Linked DNA regions of Homo sapiens: region 1 is linked to region 2. Evidence: promoter capture Hi-C in human tissues and cell types (Jung and others, 2019). All regions are on one chromosome and are shown on one strand. Each heading gives the region's core, a stretch centred on a gene start or on the middle of the fragment in contact. The rest is flanking DNA. Distances are from core to core; before and after follow the strand shown. Region 1 has its middle 130 kb from the start of LINC02227. Region 2 holds the start of EBF1 (EBF transcription factor 1).

What was found. Contacts are between HindIII fragments. The study calls those that stand out against the background at their distance.
Region 1: a contact is called between a fragment that was not itself captured here and the fragment with the promoter of EBF1 in region 2, in 1 of the 25 tissues and cell types used here (spleen).

The regions. Positions count from the first base shown.
Region 1 is chr5:158,273,769-158,279,556 of GRCh38, forward strand. No RefSeq gene overlaps it. Among named protein-coding and RNA genes, the nearest start is that of LINC02227, 130 kb to the right of the region's middle. The HindIII fragment of the contact is 3,316 bases long and covers 2,113-5,428 here.
Region 2 is chr5:159,097,240-159,102,795 of GRCh38, forward strand. EBF1 (EBF transcription factor 1) reads right to left here and starts at 2,677. Exons shown (of 16, transcript NM_024007.5): 1 at 2,106-2,677. The coding sequence starts at 2,239. LINC02202 (long intergenic non-protein coding RNA 2202) reads left to right here and starts at 3,244. Exons shown (of 3, transcript NR_109890.1): 1 at 3,244-3,599. RefSeq lists enhancers at 314-1,207, 2,957-3,585, 3,586-4,212 and a silencer at 1,850-2,139. The HindIII fragment of the contact is 15,907 bases long and covers 1-5,556 here.

The DNA.
Region 1 (5,788 bases), core at 2,521-5,020, 820 kb before region 2:
AGTGATGCTAGCTAATTTACCCTTGCTTTCTTTGAACTGTTGTTTGTATTCTTTTGTGTGATCCTTCACCATACGCTATCCCATGTTGTTCTCAAATTACTTCTAATATATTCTATAGTCCCGGAAATATCATTACTCTTAGATCTGACCCAGTTTGAAGCATAGAGTAGATGCACAATAAGAAATCAATTGAGTAATTGGAGACATCTTTGGATGGGGCTGAGGCACAACCCGGGTTTGGAACACAAACTCTCACTGCTTTGAATAAGTTATAGAGAAGAGAGAAGCAAATCTACTCCATGATGGACTAAGTACAGGCTTTCTCATTTCCATGGAGAAAGCAGTGACAGCCACAGCATCAACCACACTTGAAGGAAATCAAATCTTGCAAAATGGAATTCAGAGGGCATCAAATGAAGGAATGCCATGATGTAGCCTAGAACTTTTGGTTTATTATTCCAGCTGCTTGCTTGTCTTCTTTGGTTATGTGGGAAGGACAACCATAGCCATCCTGGCTATCTTGGTATCTCACCAGGCATCATAAATGGTCATGGCCTCTATCGCTCCTCGCCTATTGCTTCTTTGCTCACAATGAGGGAGTGAGGAGGACTCTCTCCCTGCCAGTGTTTCAATCCTTGCATAAGGATTCTAAACGGTGTGGTCTTAGTCTTTCTCACCTCTCAGTTTTACAGTTTTGTATTCAATTTATTTCTTTAGCTTTCATCTCAAGGATTCTGGGACAAGTTTTTGTCAATGAGGTTTAATTGGAGATCTATGAGAGGCATCCCATTGGGTACCATGCTGAAGTCTTCCTTGACATCTATAGTTGGTCAGTGACCTGGGGTTTAGTCAGCATCTCCAATCCTTCTTTCAGGATGAACTTTCCATGGGGGGATCTCTCCAAACAGAGAGTGAACATTCCACTTACTCTTCTTTGAATGCTAAACCCAATGTTCTGGGGGCCTCCCTTTACTAGAAAGCTCAGCTGGTACCTCCCTACTGACAGTACTTCCTAAGAGAAACTTCCTTACTCCTGTACCTCCCCTCAGTAGTCACGACTGGCTAGATTAGGAATGGCTACCTGACTCAAGGGTGAGCCATTAATCAGCTTTCCAGTGACACAACTCATTGTGAGAAATAAGCTGGAAAAATCCAAATCTTCCCCTTAGGAGTTTGAACTGGGGAACTTGAAGAGCTCAAGACAGGTAGAAGCAGGGACAGAAAAATGTCCCATGTTAGAATCATGGCCAGGCAGAGGTACATGTGAGTAGAATTTCAGATGGAGCAGAACGTACAAGTAAACAGAAGCATCAGTTGACAGATAAGGAGAATGGTCCAGAAATGCAGACAGAAGCTAAAATAATATGAGAAAGAGACCATGAGATCTGCGTGAAAGGAAAGCTGTGGAAAGTATTCAGCCCCTGGATATGACTCTATTCTTGATAGCTTCCCACTTCTACTCAATACATATCTTTACAATAAACTCCCCCCCTTTCATGAGCTTATTTGAGCCAGCCTTTCCTTTGATATCAAAAAAGCCTGACCCTATCACTCTCCTGATCCTCACAGGCTGTATGATTATTTTTACCTGGGAAACCCCTTGGCTTCTTATAAAGGTGTGACTTCTAGTGACTGACCCTGGCATGCTAGATTCCTCCAAAGGGATGGGCCAACCAGGTTCCAACTCTAGGTATGTTTGAAAACATACAAAACAATAGTTTAGTTCGAGTGAACAATGTCACTTTTTACTTGTGGACAATACAAAGCGTCCTATGAAATTGCTGCAGCCACAGTCACAGTTCTGATCCCTTTTTACCGCTTTTCTACCCATTGACCTGCACAGCCTAGCCTTGTGACTTATTTTAGCCAATGAAATAAAGCAGAAGTAGTAGAGTGCTAGCCTGAGACTACGACTTAAAAGGCATTGCAAGCTTCCATATGTTCCTCTTGGGCTTCTGCCATCAGTAGGAGAAGAACATGCCTCATGGCACTCACTGGTCCCAAGAGAATGAGAGATACGTGGAGCTGAGCAGCTACGGCCAATGCCTGCAGCCTGAGCAAAGCCATTGTAGCTGACCTGGGAGCAGGTTAATACATGCTTGTTACCGCATGCACCTGAGATTCTGTGATTGGTATGTAATCATAGCTGATTAATAATATCTATCTTCTGCAGCTTTCTCTTTCCTTTGACTTTATACTTCCTCTTGATTTTGCCTTCCTTTCTGGCCACTCCTTCTCAGTCTTCTTCATGAGCCCCTCTTCTGTTACCCTTCAAATGTTGGTATTGCTCAAGCTTCTGGTCAAGGCCTCTATTTTTTCAATATACATTTGATACATTGATGAACTGCATAGGTGAGTTCAGTATCTTTTACAACCCGATGACTCTCAAATTTGTATCTTTGGTCCAGACTTCTCTTCTTTACATTAGATTCATATGTATTTATACAGATGCCTCTTGGTCACCTCCTTCTAAATGCTTTGCAGGCTTCTTGAAGTCAGTGTATCAAGGGAAGTAATCATCACTTTCTCCATACCTCTACTTGTTCCTCCTTCTGTAACCTTTCTCAAGTGACTAGCACTATAATTTGCTTAGTTGTCCAAACCAGAAGCCAAATTTCACCTTGATTTTTTTTCTCTCTCAAAGTTTTTCAGTTTACTGTGTACTCAGTCACGAACTGCACAGATTTCTGCTTCCTAAATGTCTCTCCTAACTGACCATGATTCTCCATCCCTAGTATTCATGGTTGTAGATCAGGCCTCCATCCTCTCTGACCTGGCTCACAGGAATCATTCCCTAAGTGGTCTCAGTGCTGCTAGTGTGGACCCCTCACCGTCTATCCTCATCCTCTGGAGGTCCATTTCTGATGTTGCTGATATGAACTTTCTGGTGAGGTATATATGAGCATGACAAATGTCTCCAATAGCTTCTTTCTATACCTTTCAGGATAAAGCCCAAACTTTTTAGCAAGGCATATAAATCACTTTCTAACTTGGCCTCCTCTGCTTTTTGCTGTAATAATGAAGACCCAGTTTCTGTCCTCAACGCTGAAGGGAATAATGCTTACACGGAAAAGTACTTTCACTATAAGCAGTAAGAAAAGGGTGCTATCACCTAAAAGGGGCCATCTAATTCATGGACGGTAGAGGGAGAGGGAGAAGGTTTCCTTGATCCCCCAGTGTGAACCAAGGCCTGAAGGTAGAGAACACATCAGCCACAGCAAGGGGCGAATGAGCTGTGGGGAGGGAGAAAGAGTGGCCCATGCAGAAGGAACTGTGTGGGCCAAGGTCTGTGCTTGAAGAACTAAAATAATCAGTCTGGTAGAGGATTAAGTATGGTGGTGCTAATTGGGACTTGTGGGTCTTTCTTCTGAGCTGTATTAAGGAGCTTGGAGGCTCTTAAAGCAGCAATTGACAAGCAAGATTAAATTGTTGATCAAGCAAAATCACCTGTATAATTACTAGAAGAATTTCTATTTGGGGGATTCTTGGGACAAACTTGATTACGTCTCAGCTTTGTAGTTTTTTTCCGGATTGTGCAGTTGAGGTTACTTTAAAACGAATTTTTATTGACTCTCTGAACACAAAGGTGAAAGAAATCCCCAGAGGTCATTGAGATTTTTACCCCTGGCTTCAGGCAGAACCACACATAAATCTTTCCAGACAGATGGGTGTTTGTTGGCAAAGGTATTCAGCCGCAAAGAAGTAATAGCTGCTTTTGTTGACAGATTTAGAGATGTTTTGCCAAACACTATCTTAAAATACTATGATTAGATGTAATTTTGCAAAAATGAGTCTATAATGGAGGTGATTCGCTTGCCGTATCAGCTTAGGAGTATCTTCTATTTACAGTTTATTAAATTTACATTTGATTAATTTACACTGAGTGCAAGCAGTTACTCCGTAATTATCTCTTTGCCTGCATCAGAATACATGCAACATTATGTTTGGAAAATTGTGAAGTCAGAAGATGTTAACATTGGAAATACCCATTAGTGATCTCTTTTACCTCCTTACCATCCAAACAAATGCTTTATGCATTTAGATTCATGAGGGGTTCTTCAACTCTGTATTTCCCACACATTCTAACACAAAATTTTATTTATCTTCCATTTCATAATTTAATAGCTAATCTGTCACAAGCAACAATTTTTGTTTGTTTGCTTAGTTCTGCTGAACCCACCGTCATTAGACAAAACCATTATTTGAAAAATCTCTTTCAGGAAATCATATACATGGATATCCTATGAAGTTCTCATAAACAAGAGCTGTGTTTTCTTTAGTTGTTTATTCTTAAACTTTTCAAATATTTATTGCACACTTGAGACATTGTGGTGGATGGCATTTCAATATACATTTAACCCCAAATAATGTAAGTGACGGGTCAGCAAACGATAGCCTTTTGGCCAAATCCAGCATGCTGCCTGTTTTTGTATGGCCTTTGAGCTAAGAATGATTTATGAAATGGCTGAAAACATTTAAAAGAAGAATACTGACATGTGACTGTTATATGAAATTCAAATTTCAGTGTCCATAAATAGTTTTATTGGAACATAACTATACTCATTCATTTACATATTGTCTGTGGCTGCTTTTGTAACACAAGGGCATGTTGAGTAGTTGCGGCAGGCACCGTATGGTCTGCCAAGCCTAAAATGTTTACTATCTTGCTCTTTCCAGAAAATGTTTGCTGATCCCTAGCCTAAGGTAATCATGGTAATCTCATTTCCTTTGTGAATGATTGGTTTGGGAATGAACATAAAAACCTAATCCTGGGAAAATGAATATCAGAGGTCTGAGGGGGCTTCTTGGAAAGGTTTCTTAGCTGCTCTTAAGGAGGCACAGGAAAAGATGGTTCCTTTCTTTCTTTGCTGTTGTTGCCCCTGGATAAGGAGCCTGAAGATGTGTGTGGCTGCCTTGTGGCTATGACGGCTGTGGCTGTAAAGGCTCTGTACTGAAGGCATGGCCACCTCACTGAGTATGACAGCAGGGAGATGGGAAGAGCCAGATTTCTCATGCGGATATGAAGACATTAACTGAGCCCTGGATCCTACTCTGCCTTTGAACTTCATGTTGTATGAGGTAACATGCTTGCTTCATGTTTAAGTCATTTTGAGGTAGGGGTGGAGGTAAATTTCTGTTCCTTGGTGCCAAAGCTTCCTACATGGACATCAACAATACACTAGCCACTGTGTCAGGTGTTGGGAATACAGTAATGCCAAAAATAATATAAAGTAAAATGTTCCTGTTCTTCACTAGCTTAGTGTAGTAGGGAGACTTTCTAGAAAAATAGGATAGGGAACGTTTAAGGCTGTCTTGAGGAATCAGGGTAAAGCTCACAGAAGTACTAATGCTTGATCTGAGATTTGAACGGTGATTTGGACCTCAGCAGGCCATTTTATAGGACACCAACAATCCAGGAAAAAGAAGAATATAGAAAAAGAAGCAGGACAGATGAAACAGTATGGTGTTTGTTTGGGGATAAGTAGAAGCAGTTCAGTATGGCTGAGATGCTGAGGATGGAAGAAGGGGCTCGAGTTTCCTTAGCATAGAACTTGGATGCGCTGTTGTAACAACGACTACTATCATTGCTGCTAGTACAGAAGCAATTCTTACAACTATTTTAAAACTGTGACAGGTACACCTCATTTTATTGCACTTCACTTAATTTTGCTTCACAGATAATGCATTTTTTACAAACTGAAGCTTTCTGGCAACCCTGTGCTGAGCGAGTCTGTTGGCACCATTTTTCCAACAGCGTGTGCTCACTTTGCATCTCTGTGTCACATTT
Region 2 (5,556 bases), core at 1,427-3,926:
AACATCCAGTGGGCGCTCTTCACGCCCCTTCAGGCGACATAGACCCAGCTGACAACGGGACACACATGTCCCCTCATGTCCTCGTCCTCTCCGCCAAGGACGGGTGCGTCCTCAGAACTCGCTGAAGAGGTGTGAAAGTTTTGTTTGGGTTTTGCGCGCGAGATGAAACTCTATAAGCATTTACTCCTACCTGACACGCACTGCGTGGGGAGGAAGAAAAGTGGCGGTGGATGAAGTGAACCCACCTTCGCGGAGTAGAACCCACAGTTATATTCCGGCACCCCTCGAATCTCACGTCTCAGCTAGCAGGGCAGGTGGGAATGGATGGAAAACATGCTCGGCGTCTCGCCGCAGCAGCCACCCTCCAGGAACCCCTCAAGCTCTGGCCAACTGCGAGTGCCCGGCCTTGGGAAGCCACATCCCCCCACCACCAAAAAGCATGTGGAGAAGGGTCCGAGGGCGGGGCTCAGAACTGTCGCGGGTGGTCGCTGTGAAAAAGGGAAGAGGGGTGTTTTCTTAAAGACCTGTCCTAACAAAGTTTCGCTGTTCCGCAGAAATCCTCACACTCATTCCAGAAATCCTAAAGGCCAGGGCTGCTGGCTCAGTGCGCCGGCCGGCGATGGGAGGCTGGAGCGCCTGGGGCGCCAGGCGGCCACTGACAGCCGGACCTGCCCAACACAAGCGCGCACAGGCACACACACACACATAGAAGAACACACACGAGCGCCCCGCGCACACACTTTCACTTCCAGCCCAGTTACCCAATTCACTCTCACTACCACCCACCCCCATCCTAATACTCAGTGGGGATGGGAACAGTGTTGGGGACACTTGTCCCCAGCCCAGGGAAGCTGGAGATGATGTAATTAGTCATCTTCCTTCTTCCCCTTCCGCACTCTGAGTCCGATAGGGCCTGGGGCCACCAGATCTCCCACTGTCCCAAGCTCAGCTGGTGGCTTAATGGGGGGAAAAAGGCCATTTCTCACTTGGGACCAGGAGCCTGGGAAAGAGCCTTGGGTGTGCCCAGGAAAGTTCCCTCAGGTCAACCTCCAAGGGCAATGCCTCCAGGCCACACAGTCTAGTGTCTAGGGAGCTGCGAGTGAGAGAAGGGCTGGAAGGGGCCATGGTGACAGGGGCTGGAGAAGACTTTTGGGAGATATCAGAATTAAAGTTGGGAGTTGCTATTCTACCGGTAGACTAAGAAAAAACTGAAAGACAGAGAGGGAGGGAAGGAGAACGAGATAGCAGAAATAAGAGAAGACTCAGGGGAGAAATGGGACGAAAAAACAGGAAAGCCAGAGAGGTAAGGAAAGGAGAAAGAGGAGAAAGGAGGGAAGCTGAAGAAAGAAGAGAAAGAAAATGGAGAGAGGAAGGGAGGAAGGAAAAGAGTGAGGGAGAAATTAAGGGAAGGTGGGGGAAAGAAATGAGAGAAGGAAATGAAAGAAAGAAGAAAGAAAAGAAGGCAGGAAGAGAGACAGGAAAGAACGAAGAACGAAAGAAATGGAAGGAGGGAAGAGGGGAAGAAAGGAAGAGGAAGGAGAAGAGAAGAAAATAAAGGGGGGAGAAAGGAAAGAAGGAAGAAAGAAAAAAGAAAGGCAGGAAGAGGAAAGAGAAAGAAAAAGGAAAAAGAAAAGGAGGAAAGAAAAAAAGAAAGAAAAAGAAAAAAGAAAGAAAAAGGAAGGAAGGAAGAGAAAGAAAGAAAGAAAAAAGAAAAGAGGGAAAGGAAGAGCGAAGGGAAAGAAGAAAAGAGAGCCGGCCGGAAAAGAAAGAGCAATCACATAAAAACATAAAACACAGATCTCCAACATGCTGTGTTGAGACGCCTCTTCTGGGTTAAAACAAAATGAAAACAGTCACAGACGAGGCAGGGGAAAGTGCTGGCAAAGCGTGGGCTCCTCGCAGACAGCTCCAGGTCCTCCGGCCGCAGGCGACGAAGGCAGAGCGGCTGGAGAGCGCGGAGCCCCGGCGGAGAGCGGAGCGCAGCGGCTGCGGACTCACCCCGCCGCCCGGCCCCGCGGCAGCAGCTGCCGCTGCCGCTGCCGCCTCCGCCTCCCGGCTCTCCCGCTCGCGGCTCACCTCGGCCGCGGTCCCCGCGCAGTACCCACCTCTGCGCCGCCGTGTTGGCGTCCAGCACCCCGGCGCCCTGCATCCACGTCCGCACCGCGTTCATGCCGCTGCCCAGCGGCTCTTCCTTCATGCTGCTTCCACTCCGTTGGATGCTTTCCTGAATCCCAAACATGAAAACAACCTTTTCTTGTGGAAAATCTCCTCCCCCTTGAAAAAAATTAAAAAAAAAAAAAAAGGAAAGAAAAGAAAGAAAAGAAAAGAAACAAAAACGCCAACCAGAGATTTTTTTTTTTCTCAGACGATGAACTCGCACTTAGAAGATCAAGGCGGGCTGGAAAGCAAATTTTTAAAAAATGTAAACCTCTGCTCAAAACTGAGCGATAACCCGAAAAAAAGAAGAAAGGGAAAATCCAACGAAAAGACCAAAATAATAAAATTAGAGATGTATGCTTGGCTGTTGGGGGTTGTTTGGTTGGTTGATTTTTGGTTTGGGTGCTTTTTTTTTTTTTTTGCTTTTTTTTTTTTTTTTTTGTAATGATCACAGGCCGGTGGAGGACAGGAGGGGCTGGAGTTTCCTTTTGTAGAGGTACCCTTCACTTGAAGAAGCAGGAAGAAAAAAAAAAAAAAAAAAAAAAAAAAAAAAAAAAAACCCTGATGGCAATTTAAGAAACAATAGACTCAACTCGCGCTGCCGGCTTTGCTACTTCAAGTGTCATTTTCCACAACCAGGCAAGTTTTTTCCTCTCTCTCTCTTTTTTTTTCCTCCTTCTCTCCCAACCAAAGATGTTTCTTTCCTTTGCGTGTAGATGAGGAGGACGCTGGTTGCCGTAGACAGATACACCAGAGAGGGTGGGGGGAAGGGGAGAGAGGGAGAGAGGAAAGGGGGGGAGGGAAAGAGAGATAGAGAGGAGAGGGAGAAAGAGAGAGGGGTGGACCCTGCTGGATGGAGATTCTGTTTTCTCCTTGCTAAAATAGAAGTGATTTGCAGGCTTTCCCTATGGAATCCAGTTTGACTTTCCCCAGAGCTAAACACAGGCACACTAACCCCAAAGGGAGGAGGCGGGGCCCGCGCATCGAGGCCCCGCCCCTTCATTTGCATAACGTCATCTTTCCGCCCACCGCAGCCAATCGCGGCCCGGGAGCCGGCTCGCTGGCGGCGCCAGGCCACGCTCTCTCATTAACATCCCGCTCCCGGTGGCGCAGGGGAGCCGGCCAAAGTTCCTCGCAAAGTGGCGAGCGAAGGAGCGCTGAGCACTGACGTCTGGGCTGGGGAGGAGCGGGTCCGAGCGAGGACGGAGAGGGGACAGAGGGAAAGGGAGGCGGGTGTCTTCCTCAGGAATTTGAGCTGGGGATCTGCATCCTGGCCATTGCAGTCCTTTAGCATCCTCGCCGCGCCCTGAGCGCGCTGGAGGCTCGCAGGCTGCGCCCTCCCAGGGCTGATGCCGCGTCCTGCTCCGCCGTTCTGGGACGTCGGGGACAAAAGTGGAGGAGACGGGAGAGCCCGGGCAGAAAAAGCAGGACGCGCGTCCCAGGTGCCCACCTCTTCGCTTTGAGGCGGGGGCGGTGGGATGGAATATGGGTGCGCGAGGTCGGGGCTGGTAACTCTCGGAGGGGCACGGCCTCCACGCTGGGAGGGATGAATGGACGCTGGGCCCCGGCAAATGAGGCGCTGTGGGTCCCCAGGAAGTGGGGTACCAGGCTCTACTCCCACCCCGGCCTCTGAAACGCTTCTCTCTCGGCCGCTAGCCTAGAGGCTGCCAGGGTTGGGCACTGTTCTCACTCACACGCTCACCTCTCTCGGGCAGTCCTCGAGATATGTGAATGGTGGAATGAATGCTCTCACTGGGGCTGTGTCAGGATGCGTTTTTAAATTTTCTCAAATTAAATGCCAACCCCTCATTCCCCACCCCAAGTAGTTGGTTCGTTTGTTTTTAGAGTAACTACCAAAGCAACAGCAATGTTAACCGTCCTTGATTAGCTGGTTATTTGGTGTAGGGTTTTTCTCATCCTCCTTTATTCTTCCTGTTAAAAAGGAGGGCTTGAACAAATCCTTCCTAACTCTGTCTCTGCCATATGAAAAGGGTGGGGGGAGAAGAGAAGGAAGGTGGGGAGAAAGGACAAAAAAGGAAGAAGGGGAAGAGAAAATGGGAAGGAAGGAGGGAGAGAGAAAGGAGAGAAGGAGAAGGAACGAATGGAAATGGGAGAGATGGAAGGAAAAAGGGAAAGAAAAAAGGACGAAATTGTCTCCCTCCTCAGGCTTTTCAGCATGTATCTTTGTGGCTGGCAAAGGAAATAGCTAGAAGTTTCTGGGTAATGTACCCCATCATTTTTTAGCAGGTTGTAACCTCTAATAAGCACATGGTGAACTTCTGTTTCATTGCCCTCAAAGGAACTCCCTGACTGCAGCCAAATCTGCTAAGGACTCCTTCGGGGAAATTATCTGCCAGAAATCCAGGTCCCCTTTCTGCTGGCCTTCCTTGGTCCTTTGATTTAGGAAGCTCATGGGGTCAGTGATGGAAAAGTACACATGCCCATGTTGAATAGAGACAGGCAAGAGTTATGCTTTGTGCTCTTGGCAGAGCAGTGGAGCCACTTCCTGATTCCTAAACTGGATGAAAGAGTGTGGTCCTGGCCTGCAGTGCATGGCCACTGTCCTCAAACACTGCTTTATCTCCTGTGCACGAGGCCTGCCCAGCTCTCACACATGTAATCTAGACTTCTTGTGTGCTGAGCACTTTCCCCTGGTACCATAATTAATGCCATCTCTTCCAGGACTTCCCTGAAGGGATTGGTCTGATCTTTTGGGATCCCCATAGCATTCACAGGGGTTCCTAACATAGCGTTCATGTCGAAGAAGAGTATAATGGTGGAGAGACTTGAAGGGCTGTAGGTTTTTGGGGATAGGTATGTGAACATTTTCAGTCTCTATAGTATTTAAATGCACAATTGAAACTTGGCCTGCTAAAAACTTTCTAAAGCTCCAAACTTAACCTTATGCTCCAGGTCCAAAGGGGTCCCCAGAGTCAATCCCTCCCCCTGCCTGGGCCATATTCTCCAGCTCAGAGAGGATCCTTGAAGGTAAGGAGATGAGGAAGCAAAGCCCACCCATCCTATCAATGGGTCCCATATAGCCCTGGCAAAAGGCCTAGGCCTCCTTCTCTTTATCTGCCTGAACCTCCATTTTACTCTCCAGTAAACAGTCCTCAACTGCAGGACTCCCAGCTGAGTCTGGTGGGGTGTCTCCAGTGGTGAGGGACACAAAATAAGGGAGCAGATCACTGCCAAAGGAAGGTGACAAAAGTGCCAGGGAAAAGAAAAGCATAGACACCCTCAAGTCCAGGATCAGCAAGAGACACACAGCAGATAGATTTCTGGGGTTGAACAGAGTCTAGAAGCATCTGCAAAGGATGCGTTTGTTGAGAGCCTGAAGCTGACTCACCCAAATGAGAAAGTGGCACAAAGCAAGAAGTCCTGAGCAGCTCAATTTCT